Linked DNA regions of Homo sapiens: all the other regions are linked to region 3. The links are contacts of gene promoters, found by promoter capture Hi-C in blood cells and fetal thymus (Javierre and others, 2016). All regions are on one chromosome and are shown on one strand. The core of a region is centred on a gene start or on the middle of the fragment in contact, and the rest is flanking DNA. Distances in the headings are between cores, read along the strand shown. Region 1 overlaps SLC35F3 (solute carrier family 35 member F3). Region 2 overlaps SLC35F3 (solute carrier family 35 member F3). Region 3 holds the start of PCNX2 (pecanex 2). Region 4 has its middle 88 kb from the start of SLC35F3. Region 5 overlaps SIPA1L2 (signal induced proliferation associated 1 like 2). Region 6 overlaps SLC35F3 (solute carrier family 35 member F3). Region 7 overlaps SLC35F3 (solute carrier family 35 member F3).

Region 1 (2,739 bases), core at 167-2,666, 770 kb before region 3:
AGCAAGACTCCCTCTCAAAAAAAAAAAAATGTATTTTATATATATATTATATATTTTTATATAAAATTATATATAATATAATATATAAATATGTATTTATATATAAAATTTTATATATTATATTATATATTATTGTCTATAAATATATTATATATTATATATTTTATATACAAAAATATACAATATATTATAATATAATATATAATATATATTGCATATAATATATATTATAATATATATTATATATAAAATTATATAATTTTATATATTATATATAGTAAAATTATATAATTTTATATATTATATGTAGTAAAATTATATAATTTTATATATTATATGTAGTAAAATTATATAATTTTATATATAATATATTACATATAAAAATATATATAATATATAAATATAAAAAATATGTAAAATATATATAAATATGCCATATATATATATATATATATATATATATATATAATGTCTCAAATCTTATCCTGTCACTCCTCTGCTTGGACATTTCTTTATTCCTGTCTCACAAGGAACAAAAGCCAAGCATTTACAGCGGTCTGCAAGGCCTACGTGGTCTGCACTCTTGCCTCTTACTGCATGCACACATGCACACACACATGCTTGCTCACACACACACCTCTCTGACTCCCAGATTACTGGCTATTCCTGCTCCTACTGTACTTTGTTCCTACTTCTATTATAGTTCCTATTTGTGCCTACTTCTGTTTCAGGGACAGCAATTATGGGTTCTATGATGGCTTCTCTCATAGCTAAGGCATGGTGGCACGCGCCTGTAGTCCCAGCTACTTGGGAGGCTGAGCTGCTTCTTGTAGCTGTTAGCATGTGAGTCTTCTGTTACAGACTGTGAATCAGATGAGAGTCAGGGCTAACTTACCTTTGCACCTTTCACAGCACCCTTGACTGCATCTGGCTGACAGCAGTTGTTGAAGTTTTCTTAATACAGGAGTTTCAAGAGGAAGCCATAAACCAAAAGGCAGGGACAGAGTGCATTCACTATTTCTGAAAGTTTGAGGTGCGTGGAATTTTTCGCATTGAATCCCACGTTTACAGTCACTTTCTTAACACATTTAGAGACACTTCATTTTCATTTCTGATGGAGTTTCGGTTGGCAGAGGCTCCTAACACTTTTAAGCTTATCTGTCTCCCTTCCAATCTCATAAGTGGTTCATTATCCTTAAATTGCTTAAACATCTCTAGGAGAGCCATGAGGTTTTCATAATGTGAGTAAATGGCATTTAGTTGGAAGGCTCTCGGTTACCTGAAACCAAGCCCAGAATTTTGGAATAAGTAAAGCCCACCTCTGGAGGCCAAACAGATATTTCAGAGGTCTTCACCAAACCCAGCTACTTTATTTGAAGGTAAATGGCAGAGGCCTTGTGCATGAATTACCCTTTCCTGTGTAACAAATCACCACCACCATGACCCATGACCCCTTCATTTGCTCCTCACTCTGTGAATGAACAATCAGGACTGGACTCAGTCAAGCAGTTCTGCTGGTTTTGCCAGGGGTCATGCATGCAGCTGCAGTCATCTGGAGGCTCAGCTCGGGCTAGGTGGTATCAAATGTCCTCACTCACATGTGTGGTGGTGCTGGCTATTGGCTGGGACTCTCTTTGCCACGTGATTTCTTATCCTCCAGGAGGACAACCCAAGCTTCTTCGCCAGGTAGTCTCAGGGTTCTGAGAAAAGAAGCTGTAAGGCCCCCAGATTTCAGGGCTCAAAAGTTGCTTCTTAGGCTAAGCAAGTCAGCTGATCAAGCCCAGAGTCAGAGTCAAGAAGACCACTCACGGATGCGGACATAAGGAGAGGATATGCGGAGGTCATGCTGCAAATGATCCACCACACCCTTGCTCAGAGACCACGGACCGGTGTTTGATATTTTCTAATAAAATTTTTATTTGGCTTTTTAGCCCATGGGATATTATCCTAATATAGTAAGTTAGAATTGTCAATAGACATTGGTTACTAGAGGCGAGTATGCTAAAGGTAGCGACAATAGCCGTTGAAATCTTCAGAAATAGGAAAATAATTGAGGCAAATATAAACCCCTAAGTTGAGATCTCAAAAAGCCTCAAATCAGTTGTCATTTGCAGTGTGTAGGTAGAAAAAAAAATCACAATTGCCTCTGCAATATACTTATGTCCTTATTAAAATGGGATATAACAAATGATGATTGTGGTGATAAACTTTGACAAATCAGAACTAAGAAAGCAGAGTAGAACAGTACACATTTAAGAAAGTTATTTATTATAAGAGTTATTTGTAAAAATGTTTGATCCTTTAAGTGACTAGCTTTATTCATACGCAAATGAAGTCATGGAATTATGTATTCCCTAATGAACTGCAGAAAGTGGGTACAAAAACAGCTTGCAATAACAGAGATTTTAATATAATTGTGTGTGTGTGTGTGTGTGTGTGTGTGTGTGTGTGTGTGTGTGTGGGAGAGAGAGGGACAGAGACAGAGAGAGACAAAGGGAGAGAAAGAGAGAGAGAGAGGGAAGGAAAGAGAGAGAGAGGGAGAGAAAGAGAGAGAAAGGGAGGGAGGGAAAGAGAGAGAGAGACAGAGAGAGAGGTTGGCTTCTATTCTTTGCCCTCGTCCAACTTCTATTTGAGAAGTAGGGCAGGGGCAACCCTTTTTATCTTTGGGAAGGAGAAGGTAGTGGGAAGTGAAGAGGAAGAGACCAGGAGCATAATGGAAGGCAACCCTATTTCCATAGG
Region 2 (2,700 bases), core at 76-2,575, 750 kb before region 3:
ATACAACTAGATGGTGGTTACATCATACATTTGTACCTTTTAATGTATTTAGTTCATAATAAAAAGACATAAAGTTATAAGCATATTACTTAGACTTACGGAAGTAATTAGCAGAACTACTGATAACCAAAACAGTTAAGAAGTTTTCAATGGGGTGTGAGACTAGAGGTGGGTGAGCGAAGGCGGAAGACGGCTGCTCGTCAAAGCAGGCTCTTCGACACCATTTCAGTTGTTACTAGGTGCACCTACTACACTTCATAAAAACGGGATCTTCAACACAAGGAATGAAAAAAAGGAAAAGGTTACACGCACCATGCTTGCAACTATGCAGAACATACAGATGGAAATAAACTCTCGAAGGAAATGAAGTGATAAAATAATTGTGTCAGGATGTTGTGATTATGGAACTTTCTTTCATTCCCATATCCTCTGTGGTTGTATTGCTTACACAGCCTAAAATTACTTTTTAAATTAGCAATGTATCAAAAAAGACAGATGCATGCTCTTTAACTGATGTTGAAAAAAACAAAAGAAAAAAGAATTTGTTTCCGCTTGGGGAAGATATTGATTATGGCTGTCATTTGGATTCTTTTTATTCTTTGGTTCTTTTTACATCAGTAGTTGCCAACCTTTTATATCCTAAAGACCATGATCATAGATAGTCTTTTTTAAACTTGAAATGGTAGGAGCCTTTCTTTAGAGACAGAATTAACTTTACTGAATAATATAAAATTGGTACCATATCATCAGAATGTATTAATCATGCCCCTGTTTCTTTCAGTGTTCTCATATAACTATGCTATATGAAATATTAATTCTGATACAAATGACTTGATAATGATCCACATGGAAGGTCCAATGGACTATTTATTATACTGCTTATTATGTACCATTTCCTCTGACTCTGTCAGTGGCAGCTGTTTGCTGGAGAGAGAACCCCAAGGCAAGTTGACTTCGGAGGAGAAAGCCAGAGGGGCAACTTGACGTCAGGGAAGAGTGACCTGCCTTTACTGTCTAGCAGTAGGAGGGAGATTTACTGGGCAGCTGGCCTACTTCTACATGCATGGGCCCCACTGATGCCATAAGGGGGACATGCACGTGCATAAAGATGGTGCCATGAGCTCAGAAGGCATCACCCAGGACTCCTTCCTGTGTGTCACAGAACCACAACAAAAATGATTTCTGATTTGAACTGCCCACCCATCATCCACCCATCTAAGGATCTGGTCAATATGATTATTGAATACCTACATGCTTTTGCACCATGCTGGGTACTATGCATGTATAATGGAAACTGTGCCTCCGTAAAAATCACAGGTGTAATAGAATATAATCTCATTCACCTTCAAGTAAGTTGTGATGCAGTCCTGCTTTGCAAACAGAATCTTTGTTATAAAATGTGCAAGTGATTAGAAGAGTATTTGCAAGAACAATTATAAAACATGCTGTGGTTATGCTATTTTCTTTTAAGTCTGCCACAGGTGTGTGTGAGTGTGAATGCATATAGATACATACAGGCAGACACACTAGATGGATAGCTGCATGTATGCTCTCAAACTTCATTTTTTTCTTCCTGGACACAACTTCCTTTGCAGTTAGATTGGGTGCATGTGACTGGATTCTGGTCAATGGATGTAGGTGGAAATGATGTATATCAATTTCAGGTCTGGAAAGAAATCCCTCCGTAGTCCTTTTCCCCCTTCCTGGAGATCACAGCGACTATGTACAGAAGGTGGACGTAGTACAAGAAGGATGATCATGGATCCCTGAGTCACCACTTGGAGGAGAAAGATCCAGCAGACCACTGTCACACAGTGACAGGAGTGAGAAACAAACACTTAATGTGTTAAGCCATTGAGAATTTGAGGGTATTTATTACAGTAGTAGTGTTAATTGTCCTGTGTTTCACAATTAACTGTAGAAGCAGATTAGCCCTAGAGTAATGATGTTGATGACATCATTACCAAAGAAGGAGATTTTACATTACTGTGCTGCTAAGAAGAAAGTTAAAAACGAATATACCTCTGCAGAGATAGCACATGTGTTTCTACCCATGAAAGGTTATTCATATCATAACACGTCTTACGTTCAGCCAACTCTCCTGCAGGACCCTGCAAATGATCCATAGCATTACTCATCTGTTCGCAGCTGCAGAGTCTGGTTGAATTAATAACTTGGGTGCCTTCTATGTGGCAGGCCCAGACATGTTTTCTTTTGAATCTTTTTTCAGACATATCCCAGAATAAAGTCGGTCCCCAAACTTTCCCTAGGATGCCGGACCCTCCTTAGGTCTTCTTAGTTGTTAACCACTTTGTAATTCTCTCCTACTCCATCCTCAAGAGGCATCAAAGGCCAGAGTGCCTATGCAGCCTTGTCATCCAGGTGAGAGCCAGGACCATAATCATGAGGCTCTGTGGTTTCATCCATGACAGGAAGCAGTTGATGCAGCCAACCCACAAAGGAAAGTCTCAAAGCCAGGTGCCTCCTCTGTCAGTGTGGATGCTTGTGTGGGTCTACCACACTTTCTTCTGCTAAATCGTACATTCTGAATGATAGAAGCAGGGGGCAGAGAAACTCTAGGCAGACAGGGGCGGGTCCCTGGTGAAGCCCGGCCTTCAAGTCAAAAAGCCTGAAACCTGTGACCCAAAGCGAGAACTTCTATCCCTATTTGCCCTCTCTCTCCTGATTGGTTCCTTTTGA
Region 3 (2,714 bases), core at 58-2,557:
CAGTACAGAAAGCAGCCATATTCCATTTTGATGATTCATTCCTACTGATGAATGTAAAGTAGAAGGAAGAGTGGTTATAGCTGATGGCAGACACACCATAGTGAGGCTTTTGCTGTAACTCAGTGGCCTTTCATGTCCTGGGCCCTCTCCTCATGATGGGCCTGTCCTTATCTTCGTTTCAGCCTGGGAAGGCTGGTGTGCCTTTACTGGGCCTGACTAGGGCAGCCATAAGTAAGTGCTGCTGCAGACCAGAACATGGCCAGGACACAGGCAGGCACACAAGTCAGAGGAGTGTGATGTGTTGGGACAGACCAGGTAAGGATGATGCAGGGAAGGCGTGTTGGGAATCATGGAGCCCTCTAATCTTTGTCTCTCCCTAAGGCTCTAGCTCACACAGGGCTTCTGCTCCTCATCCCAAAGGAAGACAAGCTCCTTTTTATCTCTTCCCTTTCCAAAACCCACTCTCAAAAGAGAATCTAAACTGTATCCACTGTAAATGATAAAATATATAATAGCTTAAAGATTATTAATTTTTTGTCCAGTGGGTCTTCCTGTCTAAACAGCATAGAGAGATTTAGACTAATGTTCTATATAGCCAGTTAAATACCTGGGATTATGTTCTAGGAAAGAGATAAAAAACTAAGGCTAACTGAAGCTCCTAAAATTTTATCAGGAAGGTGGTTATCTTCTTTCTCCACCAAGTTGGACAACAGGGAGTGGAGGAGAAACAGTCAGGGAGGACAGAAGATCAGTGGCAGAGGACCAGGTAGAGCTTAGATTAATAGAACGTCTGGGGTCAGCCCTTAATTAAGGAGAATGAAGTCGTGCAGGAAGTGCTCAGGAGAAGAAATTACTTTGAGTGCTGTGTGACAGGACCTTGTATGAGGTAAATACTTGGGTGCAAAAAAGGACAAGGACAAGGAACGTGTCCTGGGTCTGTGCCTTCTGCATGAGAACACCCTTGCACGTCCCCTAACAGGAGGATCAGAGAGAAGGGGAAGGGAAGAGGGGAGAGGCAAAAAAAAAAAAGAAAGAAAGAAAGAAAAAAAGAGCGAGAAAGAAAGAGAGAGAGAGAGAGAAAGGAAGGAAGGAAGGAAGAAAGAGAGAGAGAGGGAGGGAGGAGGAAGGAAAAAGAGAGAGAGAAAGAAAGAGAGAAAAAGAGAAAGAGAGAAAGAAAAGGCTGGAGGCACTCACAGAAATCCTTCTGGCCCCCAGCGAAGGCTAAGGAGGGACTGGGCGGGCGTTGGGAGGAGCCTCGGAAGCAACCTCTGAGCAGCCGCCTCTGAGCACGATGGGAAAATCCTTCCTCCCTCGGACATGGCGCTCACCTGCCCGGCCGCAGCAGCCGGCTCCGGCGCCGCGGTTCGCGGGTCCGGGCGGAAGAGCAGCTCCAGCTTCAAACGTGGGGTGGAAGGAGGCGGCGGGGGCGACGGCGGCGGCGACGGCGGGGGCGCGGCCCGCGGGCCCGGGTGTTAGACCTGAGGGAGCCTGGAGATCCGGCCGGGGCGCGCAGGGTGCAGCGGGGCGCTCACCAGCCCCGGGGCGCAGCCGGCATGGTGTCCCAGGTGCTGCAGCTGCTCCGGCAGGGCGTGTGGGCCGCGCTCACCGGGGGCTGGTACCACGACCCGGAGCAGAGCAAGTTCACCAACAGCTGCCACCTCTACCTGTGGCTGTTCCTCCTGCTGCTGCCCCTGGCCCTGCACCTGGTGAGTGGGGAGGGTCCGGTCCCGGGGAGCTGTGGGTATGGAGGGAAGAAGGAGAAAGGAACCACAGACGTGCCATCAGCCTCACGGGCTTTCGGGTTCGTAGAGATTCTTAAGAGACGGAAAGGGAGGGGCTTCAGAAATTTGGGACAGAGAACATGCAGGGAAAGGGGACTGTGAGGATTCACTGGAAAAGAAAAGAAGTAGACAGGACTGCGGGGGCTCGGGGACTCATTAAGAATTGATGCCGGATGTTAGGATGAGTCACTCTGCTTGTGGCAGGGAGCGTGCAGCCTGTTTTGTAGGTGGGTAACTCTAGGCCTTAGAGCTGGGTAGCTTGGGATAATGTTTGGTGTGAAATGCTGTAGATTGTAGCCAAGAGGAAAAACGAAATGTAAAAAGCAGACTCATTTCAGTTATTGTCCCCTTTTTCCCCCCTCACCTTCTTTCTTGTTTTGCTTTGAGAAGGCAGTTCAGTTATCAGTTACTCACATTGTAATTTCTACACCACTATGTATAGAAATCTGTAGGAAGATATAATAATGGATAAATCTAATGTACTTTATGCTAAACAAAGTATTACAACATTTAGATGGGGCTTGACATTTTAGTGGGGTTATGGTAAGTGAGTGCTTGCTGAAGAACTACATAGATGGCCTTCTTAGGTAAATTATACGTAATTAAAACAATGGTTTACCTGCTTTGAAAAGCTGTACAGGTAAGGTGTTCCATGTCTTATTAAACTTTACGTGCCAAGAATCTAATTTTGGTATGTCGGTTGGAGGACTTTATTCCTAACACATTATTTGATCATTTTTTTTACAGCAAAAATCGTCAATGAGTTTGCATGACTGATGGATTCCGAGTTTGACATTTGTGATTGGGTTTCTCTTTACTCTTTTTCCGGCAGTGTATCCAAAGGGTCAGAACTCTGGGTGTGAAGTCATGATGCCTAGGTTAAATTTTGGGTCTACTGGTTACCAGTTCTGTGACCTTGGGGAGGTTATTTAC
Region 4 (2,700 bases), core at 155-2,654, 520 kb before region 3:
TGGTTTCCTATATCTGGCCTCTCCTTTTCTGGATGCTTTTCTGTATCCATAGCAGGTCCCTCTTCTTGTCCCTGAGACAGGTGTTTCTCAGGGCACAGCCTTGGGCTTTCTGCTCTTTCTTCTTTACTAGTTTTCACTGTACCTGGACAAAGGAACTCACTGTGAGTCTTCAGTAATCTCTTCAGTGCTACTGACTCCCAAATCAATAACTCCAGCACAATCTTTCTTCTGCACTCCGCTTTGATGTCTGATAAGTACCTCCAACTCACCATGTCCAGGATTGATTTTATCCTGGTCTCCCCAACTTCCTGCGTTCCTCTTTCTCCAGATGGCACCATGATGGCCCAGCTGGAAACCTTCTCTCTTACTTGCCCACCCAAATGCCTCACACCCCGGCAACCACTTCTTCATATAGACATTTCATTTGGCACTAATTCTGTTTACCTGAATCTATCAACAGAGCCTACTTTCCTGCTCAGATCCAACTACCTCACAGAGATAAGATAGTATTTTATCATTTGGTAGCCTTTTATAAATGATTCATGTGCTGCAGACTGAAATTTTACAAAAAAAAAAGTTGTTAATCCTTAAAGGCAGTGAAGAAAGGAATGGTGATGATACTAGGAAAATTCTCCTCAGTATTACCAAATTGCCAAGGTTTTTTCTTGTACTGTTTCCATGTTCCTTTCATGAACACTAGACTCATTCCTGCTCTGTGCAGTTTCACTGACAAGTGCTGGGGATGCAGAAACAAAATAAGAATACTTGTTCCAAAAAAGTAGCTTACAGAGTAAAGGAGGAGAGTGGTAGGAACACCATAGCCATTCAACAGCGCTGTCTTTCAACACTAAGGTACAGAAGCCAGGGGGACAACAGGCCACCCCTCTGACCAGCAAGGTGTGACGAACTTCCCAGAGGTGCGGTGAAATCTAAGATGAGTTCTGAATTCAGTCATTTATTCAATTCATTTTTTATTCGGTCATTTATTAAATGAATATTTACATTAATTGCTTCACAGTTGCTCTTTAGCCATCTGATCAGATACTAAATCTCTAGCACCAAGCAAATCTTTGCTGTTATTTTTTAAAACCTCGGAATCCCAGAGTTTGACACAGAAAGGAGATGATGCAGGCCAGATCAAATTAAGAAATTAAGAAGAAAAACAGCTTCCCCAGTATGCTCTCTTATTTTCAGAGAGTCAGACTGTCAGGTCAACCCAGGCAGATGGAAAAGGAGATTAGGAAATGCATTCAACATGCTCATGGTCTGCTGATAGCTTTTCAATACTGCTGCCTGTCATTGGGAATACACCGTGCCCTCCTTCTGAATAAATTACAGAGCAATTACAGCCTAAGGGATAGGAGTTTTCCCACTACCTTGTTGAGCACTGCTGTGGCTCAGAAGCTACTTGAGCCACAGTGTGAGTGGGTCTCAGAGAGAACAGCTGCCCTTCCTAACCTACCACCAATTGTCTGGGGTGGGGTAAGTCAGTGAGGGCTTGATCCCAAGACTCAAGCATCAACCTCGCTTTGATGGCTGACACATGAAATGATGTAAATGGATGAATAATCCAGTCCGAGCTTCTGTGCCTTCAGGAATTTTAGCCTTTCCTGGTTCTACCTCCTGGTTCTGGCAACACTAATGAGAGACTGAATAGATAAACAGAAAACAGCCAGACCATGCCTAAAAGACAGAACTCTGACCTACAGCCTGCAGCAACCTGCCCAGGAAGCCAACACAGTAGCCAGCCCAGGAAGCCAGCCGGCTGTGTCAGACTTGTGGAAAGTCAGGTTGCTTTGTCTAGCAACAGTCCAGGAAGTCAAACAAGAACCCCAAAAAGCCATGGCTAATCTTTTTTTGCTTTATAAGTCTTTTTTTAAAACTCACTAATTTTTGATACATCATAATTGTATATACATGTGATATTTCGATACATGCATACAATGTGTAATGATCAAATCAAGGTATTTAGGACATCCATTGGCTTAAACATTTATTATTTGTTTGCATTTGGAACATTCCAAATCTTCTCTTCTAGCTATTGAAATATACAATATATTTTTGTTAACTATAATTACCCTATTGTGCTATCAAACACTAGGACTTATTCCTCCTATCCAACCATAGTTTTGCATTCATTAATCAACCTCTCTTTTTTCCCTGCCCCCACATTACCTTTCCCAGCCTCTGGTATCTATCATTTTACAATCTCCATGACGTCAACATTTTTTAGCTTACATGTGAGTGAGAACATTCAATATTTTTCTTGTTGTGCCTGGCTTATTTCACTCAACATAATGACCTTTGGTTCCATCCATGCTGCTACAAATGACAGAATTTTATTCTTTTTTTATGGCTGAATAGTATTCCATTGTGTATACATGCCACATTTTTAAAAAAGCCATTCATTTGTGGATGGACACTTAAGTTGATTCCATATCTATGCTATATCTAATAGTGCTGCGATAAACATGGAGGTTCAGGTATCCCTGTGATATACTGGTTTCCTTTTCTTTGGATAATAAATATCCATAGTGGAATTGACAGATTGTATGGTAGTTCTATTTTCAGTTTTTCGAGAAAAACTGAATACTATTTTCTGCAGTAGCTGCACTAATTTACATTCCCACCAACTGTGTATTTTCCTTTGGGGCTGGGCACAGTGGCTTGTGCCTTTAATCCCAGCACTTTTGGGAGGCT
Region 5 (2,700 bases), core at 46-2,545, 670 kb after region 3:
CTTTCCACATGGATATCCTGAAAGAGTGTGTCAAACCTCCTTTGCTGGTTCTACTGACCAAGTTATGCTGAGTAATAATGAGTTCATTTTCAGTGTGTCCCTAGTAACGAGCACTCTCTTCTGCATATGATTAAGAAAATGTGTTAAATGACTGACTGGATTGAGACACTAGGGTCACACTGTGATCTGTGACCTCCGGAGGCCTTAGGAACTGCAGTGCTTCTAGGAAAAATCAGAATATTGTTGGACTTTCTTCAGCTTATTTTTTGGTTTGGTATTCTCTTGTGTTGAATTGCTTTCAGATAGTGGGGAAGAACACCACAGTCTCTTCCGGTTTTGTTTTAATTGGTTGATATACTTCTCTTCCTATTTTACTAATAAACATTTAGCCAAAAGGGGTGTCTTGAACTCTGCCCATTAGATTACTCCATATTTTTCACTTCTACATATTTGCTTAATCTTCTGAGAAATATCCCCATTTAGTTGAGTTCCTCAAGAAATCAGAACAGTCCGAAGTAAGCTATCTGGTAGTTTATTCAAACTCTTAAGTAAAAATATCTAGGTAAAGAGCCAGTGTTAAAAATTGTTATTGTGGAAAGTAAGAACTCCTGGGTGAATAAAAGATTATGTCTGCTGAGATGAACTATTGTGTGGAGTTTTAAAAGAAAGTTCTGGTTAATGCTTAAGACATAGTGTCCTGTGAAGTCAGCATAACTACTTTCACTGTCTTCTGGAGGTGGTTTTGATAACACATTTGGTTCCTTGTTGAACAGTGGGTATTCACATTGTTCAGGAATAGCTTTGGGATACTGTCCTCTCCGTATTGAAGTTTCTAATAAGTAATTTTAGGAATTATAGTTTTGATTCTTTGTACAGGGCAAATGCTACCTGTTTCAGGTGTTTAAATGGCCTAATGCAAGAAACAGTGGTTTCTTTTTAGCAGGTTCTCAAGGTTCTCAAACTTTTTTCAACGTGCATCCCATCTATACACAATTGTCTAAGTGTTCATGTATGTATGCGTATACATGTATACATATCTGCATGCACGTTTGTGTGTGTGTATATGTATAATATATCTGTATGTATAAACATATACTTTACTGTGCTAAGATATTATGGACATAAAACAAATGTACATTTTAAGAAGATTAATATTAAAAATAAATAGATGTAGAAGTATTTTCTCTGCATCTCAAGGGCATTTGTATCTTTGAAATGTGTGGCCCCTGTGTAGAGACCACTGTTGTACTATCACTGGTTAGAGTTTATAGCAGTTGAGAAATGGAATTTCTAGGGAGCCTGTAGGGTCTTGTGAGGCAAGCGGAAGACAAACTCCACTCTTGATGGGCCTTATATTTACTGTGTATTTATTCTTTTTCCCGAAGACATTTCTGACTTTGGCCTGTTTTCTTCCAGAATTGCTTGTGGGTCTTGGTTTGGGGTTTCATTTATTGAGGGGTAGGAGGTTAATGTAATGGCGATGCTATTCTCCTTAGAAAGTTTCTAATTGAACTCAGCTGTTTTTTTGTTTTGTTTTGTTTTGTTTTTTGAGACAGAGTCTCGCACTGTCACCCAGGCTGGAGTGCAGTGGTGCGATCTTGGCTCACTGCAAGCTCTGCCTCCTGGGTTGCTGCCATTCTCCTGCCTCAGCCTCCCAAGAAGCTGGGACTACAGGTGCCTGCCACCATGCCTAGCTAATTTTTTTTTGTATTTTTAGTAGAGACGGAGTTTCACCATGTTAGCCAGGATGGTCTCGATCTCCTGACCTCGTGATCTGCCCGCCTCGGCCTCCCAGAGTGCTGGGATTACAGGCGTGAGCCACTGTGCCTGTTCTGAACTCAGCTGTTTAAGAAGCATCATACTATCACACTCAGACGAAAGCATTCCCAGGATCAGGGTATGTTAAAAGTTCAGATTGACAGCCTAGCTCTGTCTGTATGTGATTGGCCAGAACTGTAGCACACAGCCACCCGTAGTGCAAGGAATGCCTGGCTTCCCAGCCGTTAGTGGGTTGGGAATGAGTGAGGAGAGACAGCAGGGAGCCCTGCTCTTGTATCTCCAGTAACTTCCAGCTAAACGAGCACCATCCACCCCCACCCATCCTCCTGTTCGATTTTAATAATGGAACATAAGCAGCAAACAGGCAGGGACATTTCTGGTTTACTGCTGTATTCCCTGCACTTAGGTGGTTTTTGCCACATAATAGGCTCACAGTAAACAAATATTTGTTAAAGAAATGATTGGGAGTTGTGGGTTGAACGTAAAAGAACTTCCTTTATCTTGGCTTTTGTTGAACTAAATACTGTTGAGCAAGTTCTAATCATTATTTCTATTGTACATGATCTATCTTGAACAACAGTTTATACCTCATTTATGCCTTTCCTGGGTCGTTTGAAATGACCTGTGATTGAACTCTGATATGGAACTGGTAAAAATGTGGAAGTTTCTGAAGAGGGACTGTGTTCCATCTGTTACATCAAGAACTTTATAGCCCCATTCAGAGGGGTGTGGTTCCTGGGAGCCTGGGCACCCTTAGGTGGCCGCCTTTCATGAGAGAGTATGATTCACACCTTTCCCAGGTTTCAAAGTCTCATCTGTGCTGATGCCTGCATAGCCCTATTTGAATCCCATGAGGCTGCAGTTGACTTAAAAGCCCTGGCTGGGGCTTAATCAAGCTTACTGAACAGAAAGGATTTCTGA
Region 6 (2,700 bases), core at 27-2,526, 820 kb before region 3:
CCAAACAAGCAATCTTTTAAAAACAGCAATAACAACAAAAACTCAAGAATTAGGAGCTTTTCATAACAATTTCAGTGCACATTTTTCAAATTTGTTTTCCTTTCCCAAACTTAAGCAAAAACTCATTATCTTCTCATCAGCAATAAATACCATGATATAAATTTCCAAAGAACAGCAGAAATCTATTAATGGCATGCAGTGGTGTGCTGGAGCCAACTCATACTGGCTCATAAGACTATCGTGTGTATCTCCTTCCAAACACAGTCTGTGATGTCACACTGGTAGTTTGAAACCAGCCATAGTGGGAGCACTTACCCTGCGGAACTGGCAAATGCTGCAAATCAGGGTCCCTCTTGCCCCAGTCTCCTCCTGGAGAGCCGATTGTTAAACTCTTACCAGCACACATTGCATAAGGGAGGCAAGAGAACACTTGTATCCGAGTCTTTGCACTTTGCTGAGAAATCTCTTACGTGTCACCAAAACCTTTTCTTATTTTTTTATTTTGGAGATGGCGTTCTGCTCTTGCTGCCCAGGCTGGAGTGCAATGGCACGATCTCGGCTTGCTGCAACCTCCACCTCCCGGGTTCAAGCAATTCTCCTGCCTCAGCCTCCCGAGTAGCTGGGATTACAGACGCATGCCATCATGCCTGGCTAATTTTTGTATTTTTAGTGGAGACGGGTTTCATCATGTTGGTCAGGCTGGTCTTGAACTCCTGATCTCAGGTGATCTGCCCATCTCATCCTCCCAAAGTGCTGGGATTACAGGCGTGAGCCACCATGCTTGCCTACATGTCACCGAAATCTTAATGGTCATGAACTAAAGTCTATGAACACAAGAAAGACTTCATTTTAGGGCAGCCTATAATTAAACAATTTAATATCTTAAATCCCAATTATACCTTCCAACATTACATTTACATTTAGCAGCTTCTTCCTCCTCTAGCTTCTTTAAATTTCTCATAAATCAAGAGAAAATAAGTATTAGCCTGTAGTGAGTATGTTCAGAGCTTACTTTATGAAACAGTTTTCCTGGAATGCAAACAAAAAACAAATGCTTAAGGGATCTCCAGACAACTGCCAGGTTTCTCCTGGCTCCATCCTGATTCTTTTATGTCCCAGGTCTAAGGCCAAGGGCTTACTTTGATGATTATGGCAATTTAGTCTGTGGTTGGACGGAGAGGACAAATGTGGAAATTATCAGGGGCTCATAAGAGTGCTTTGATTATGTCAGAAACTTTAAGCACAGCACATATATTAATAGTTATTTCTTTTCTTTCTTTTCTTTTTCTTCTTCTTTTTTTAAAATGGGGATGAGGTTTTGCTCTTTTGCCCAGGCTGGTCTCGAACTCCTGGGCTCATTGGTCTCAAACTACTGGGCTTGAGCGATCTTTTCACCTCAGCCTCCTGAGTAGCTGGGACTACAGGCATATGCCACCATGCCCAGCCTCAAGTAAAAGTTATTTCTGAAACCGGTCATTAAGAATGTGAATTATAGGCCGGGCACGGTGGCTCACGCCTGTAATCCCAGCACTTTGGGAGGCCGAGGAGGGTGGATCATGAGGTCAGGAGATCGAGACCTTCCTGGCTAACAGGTGAAACCCTGTCTCTACTAAAAATGCAAAAAAAAAAAAAAAAAAAAAAAAAAATTAGCTGGGCATGGTGGCGGACGCCTGTAGTCCCAGCTACTCTGGAGGCTGAGGAAGGAGAATGGGGTGAACCCAGGAGGCGGAGCTTGCAGCGAGCCGAGATAGCGGCACTGCACTCCAGCCTGGGTGACAGAGTGAGACTCTGTCTCAAAAAAAAAAAAAAAAAGAGTGTGAATTATAAACTTCACAAAAGATTGGGTAAAATTTCCAAACACAATACAAGACAATAACTATTTGGGATTACTTTTGGAAATACGGGGTAGAAGATAAACTCTGATATGAGTCACATGAGAGAAAAGGACAGCAAGGTGTTCTGTGCATTGTTATAGGGAAAGTATGTGTCTAAGCACAGATTTTTTTGTTTTGTTTGTGACAGGTTCTCATTCCATCACCCATGCTGGAGTGCAGTGGTGTGATCCTGGCTCACTGCAGCCTCGAACTACTCCCAGGCTCAAGGAATCCTCCTACCTCAGCCTCCTGAGCAGCTGGGGTCACAGGCATGCACCACCATGCCTGGCTCCTTTATTTTCTTTTTTATTTTTATTTTTTTGTAAAGACGAAGTCTCACTGCCCAGGCTAGTCTTGAACTCCTGGGCTCAAGTGATCCTCCTGCCACTGCCTCCCAAAGTGCTGGGTTTACAGGCATGAGCCACTGCACCTGGTCTAAGCACTGAATTAACCAGCACAGCCATGGCAAGGATGAGAAAGATCTGAGGTTCTGCCGAAAGCATGGCCTGCATTTATCTCAGGCTGCTCCACTCGGAGGATGAGCTATTCTCAGGCGCTTGTCTCCCCCAGGATCCTGATGGGGACTACACAGGATACAGAAGGACAAGGCCAACCTCACCCTAAACATCTTGCTGTGTTCTGAAAGCCCCATCTCATTGTTTCTCCTATTTTTAAAAAAGTCTTCTTTTCTTTCCTTAGCATAATTCTCAGCTTTCTCCAGGCCTGAGCTCTGAGGCCGCTGTCCTGGGGAAGCTCTTCCTGTTGGCCTGGAATGTGGTACCCAGCAGCTTGGGACTGGATCGTCACTGCTGGCTGGAGTCAGCAG
Region 7 (2,755 bases), core at 51-2,550, 790 kb before region 3:
GACCCGTGAACAATGAATAAAGAAGGGCCATGTCACTATCTGAGGCAGGTGCAGTGCAGGCAGAAGAATGTTGTGCTAAAGTTTTGAGGCAGGGATAACCCTGGTGTGTGTGACCACTATCACCAAGGAAGCCCCATGGCTGTAACAGAGAGGGCAGAGGGAAATGAGCTGGGAGATGTGGATGAGGTTAGACCACCCGGGACTTCACATTTAAGGACCTTGAATTTGTTTCTGGGTGGGTTGAGAAGCCATTGGAGGGTTTTTTTTAACAGAAGAGTGATACAATTTGTTTTATGCTTTGAAAGGCTCACCAAAGCTGTTGTCTGATGAATGGAATGAAGAAAGCACAGTGCAGTGGGAGGATCCTAGGCTAAAGTCCAGTTTCCTTGGTCCCAGGCCTGGCTTGTTCACTAGCTTGGTTGGGTGATGTTGAACAGGACATTTAACTCTTGGCTTATTGGGTGTCGTTAGGCAGAACACTTAACTCTGGGCAGTTCTGTGCCCCTCTGTAAGTATGAAGGAGCAACCTCGGATTGTGGACCTTCGGATAATACCGGCTCCAACATTCTGAATCTTGGTATTGAACATTTAACCACACCTAACAGATACACCACCAGTGACAGCAACTATTTAATCATTGTCACAGATGGCTGGGCTGACATGTGGCATGAAAGACTTATGAAGGTTCTAAAGGTGGGCAAGAATGGTTTATTTTATATGACTCACTGTTAGAAGAGGAATCCCTTTCCCCATCCCTAGATGAGCATGGCACACACCAAAGGCTTGGAAGCAGTGGTGGTGGGGGTATTGCTGGTGGCCAGAAAGGCAGGCAGAAAAGGAGAGACACTTCCTCTTATCCACATCTTTGCCAAGCACCTGCCCTTCCTAGAAGTTCAAACAGGTCATGTCAGGTTTATAGCTCAGGCTCAAAGCTTTGAAAAGACTCAGCATACAATATGAAATGATCAGAGAGAGAGGCAATTTATTATACCTGGGGAAATTCAATTGCTAACGCCTGTCAGAAATTTATTCACATGTTGTCAAGGCAGGGACGATAAGTCAGAATTTGCTGCTCTGTGGACACAGCTAGGGGCATCTGTAAATCTCTACATGTCCTTCACACAGGCTTTCCATTTCCTGGCATCTCCAAGTGGATGCTTCTAAAACATCATCATCCTCCTGAACTGTCATGCATGTGAGGAGATTTTCTAGCAACAACAGCCAACCACTCTCTAGCTAGGGTAGGTATTTTCAGCCAAATAAATCTTTAATTATCTACAACAACATCCCAGCCAAGAATGCCCAGCAATCAGCCCGTGTGCAATTATTAATCATGTGTAATCAGGCTTATACTGTGCTATGTGAAGGATTTTGTAGGATTGAATGCACATAAATTATCCCTTTCCTCAAGGTAAATACATCTGTCTTTTCGATATTAGCATTCTGTCCATCAAAGGATGAATAAATATAGTTTTCTTTTAAAATACAGACATGTTCCACTAAAGCAAAAACAGTTGGATTTCTGCTTCAAAACCCAATAATAACTCCCAGTTGGCTATGGAGTAAGATCCAAAGTCCCAGGAATGTCACTCATAGCCCTTCATAGTCTCACCCAACATTCAGCCCCTGACTCATTTCTCCCGTTCCTCAGAATGCACCTTAAGCTTGAACTAAGCAAGACAGCTTGTTGTTTTCAAACACAGTTCTTGTGTAATACAGGATGGTCCTCTGATAGTAAGGAAATGAATGCAGCATACAGGGGTACATCCAGGTCCTGAGTTAGACATGAGCACTTCAAATGGGGAACTAATGCATACATTCATTCACTCATTTCTTCAATAATTTTATCAGGCACTGTGTTAGGATGGTATGATGGAAGGGTATGAACAAAAATGAGCAAGATATATCCTGATCTCAAGGAAATCACACTCCCTTTAGTGAAAACACACAATATTACTGATATTTGACTATTTTTGACATACAAGACAGGGTATATAGTTCAACCTAATAGTTATGCCTAATATCAACTATTGCCAGGTGATTTCTCAACTGAGGACCAGAAATTGTCCCTGCTTAGAATTAGAGAGCAACTGAAACTTCCCAAAGAGCAGTCCGAATCACAATGGGCTTATTGAGTTCCATATCACACACAGACAAACTCTTTACAGGACCAAGACATCACACTAACATGGACATGGAATTTACTAGTAATATAAGCACTGAGTTTTATAAAGTATGGGGAGGGGAAGAAAAGATCTGAGACTGTAGGTGATGTCATTGATAGGGCTCAAGGTTTATGACCTTTATATCCCCCAAATAAAAGCAAACATCTAAAGGGTGGGCACACTGAGGTCTGGGTACAAGGTAGCCCAATACAAATTACATCTCAAGATTGATTGCCATATTCGTGCAAATGCAAGCCAAAATAATAACATCCCAATCCATTCAGACAGAGGGAAATAAGGATCATAGCACAATGATTGGGGAATACTTATCTCCAAATCTGGCTGGGCAGAAATCCCAATAGGACTTAGGAAACAAAAACCAATTTTTGAAGGCCCAAGTTGATCATAAAGATCCAGGCATGGGTGATTTTTAATTATCATCAATAGGTGGGGAAATATCCATAGCTGCCTTCCTCTGTTCCACACAAATATATCTCATGGACACTGAAGCATTCCTCTGCCAAAGATTCATGGAGAGAAGCTAACAATTACCTTGGACCCAGCTTAGACATACCTTCAGTATAAGCACA

What was found. The method cuts DNA at HindIII sites, captures the fragments that hold promoters and counts their contacts. A CHiCAGO score of 5 or more calls a contact.
Region 1: a fragment that was not itself captured here is called in contact with the fragment with the promoter of PCNX2 in region 3 in 17 of 17 cell types (naive B cells, total B cells, naive CD4 T cells and 14 more); the score reaches 33.4 in naive B cells.
Region 2: a fragment that was not itself captured here is called in contact with the fragment with the promoter of PCNX2 in region 3 in 4 of 17 cell types (naive CD4 T cells, total B cells, total CD4 T cells and 1 more); the score reaches 7.2 in naive CD4 T cells.
Region 4: a contact is called between a fragment that was not itself captured here and the fragment with the promoter of PCNX2 in region 3, in 2 of 17 cell types (naive B cells and total B cells). The highest score is 6.6, in naive B cells.
Region 5: a fragment that was not itself captured here is called in contact with the fragment with the promoter of PCNX2 in region 3 in 2 of 17 cell types (monocytes and M1 macrophages); the score reaches 6.0 in monocytes.
Region 6: a contact is called between a fragment that was not itself captured here and the fragment with the promoter of PCNX2 in region 3, in 1 of 17 cell types (M1 macrophages). The highest score is 5.8, in M1 macrophages.
Region 7: a fragment that was not itself captured here is called in contact with the fragment with the promoter of PCNX2 in region 3 in 4 of 17 cell types (total B cells, M0 macrophages, naive B cells and 1 more); the score reaches 6.8 in total B cells.

The regions. Positions count from the first base shown.
Region 1 is chr1:234,066,553-234,069,291 of GRCh38, reverse strand. The region is part of intron 2 of SLC35F3 (solute carrier family 35 member F3); the gene reads right to left. Among named protein-coding and RNA genes, the nearest start is that of SLC35F3, 160 kb to the right of the region's middle. The HindIII fragment of the contact is 521 bases long and covers 1,156-1,676 here.
Region 2 is chr1:234,040,364-234,043,063 of GRCh38, reverse strand. All of the region lies in intron 2 of SLC35F3 (solute carrier family 35 member F3), which reads right to left. Among named protein-coding and RNA genes, the nearest start is that of SLC35F3, 140 kb to the right of the region's middle. The HindIII fragment of the contact is 4,602 bases long and covers 1-2,700 here.
Region 3 is chr1:233,294,318-233,297,031 of GRCh38, reverse strand. PCNX2 (pecanex 2) reads left to right here and starts at 1,307. Exons shown (of 34, transcript NM_014801.4): 1 at 1,307-1,706. The coding sequence starts at 1,554. RefSeq lists a silencer at 1,212-1,591 and an enhancer at 1,872-1,921. The HindIII fragment of the contact is 4,266 bases long and covers 1-2,714 here.
Region 4 is chr1:233,815,056-233,817,755 of GRCh38, reverse strand. No RefSeq gene overlaps it. Among named protein-coding and RNA genes, the nearest start is that of SLC35F3, 88 kb to the left of the region's middle. The HindIII fragment of the contact is 6,208 bases long and covers 1-2,700 here.
Region 5 is chr1:232,622,457-232,625,156 of GRCh38, reverse strand. The region is part of intron 1 of SIPA1L2 (signal induced proliferation associated 1 like 2); the gene reads left to right. Among named protein-coding and RNA genes, the nearest start is that of SIPA1L2, 6.3 kb to the left of the region's middle. The HindIII fragment of the contact is 2,765 bases long and covers 1-2,677 here.
Region 6 is chr1:234,111,669-234,114,368 of GRCh38, reverse strand. All of the region lies in intron 2 of SLC35F3 (solute carrier family 35 member F3), which reads right to left. Among named protein-coding and RNA genes, the nearest start is that of SLC35F3-AS1, 160 kb to the left of the region's middle. The HindIII fragment of the contact is 4,205 bases long and covers 1-2,700 here.
Region 7 is chr1:234,085,186-234,087,940 of GRCh38, reverse strand. All of the region lies in intron 2 of SLC35F3 (solute carrier family 35 member F3), which reads right to left. Among named protein-coding and RNA genes, the nearest start is that of SLC35F3, 180 kb to the right of the region's middle. The HindIII fragment of the contact is 732 bases long and covers 935-1,666 here.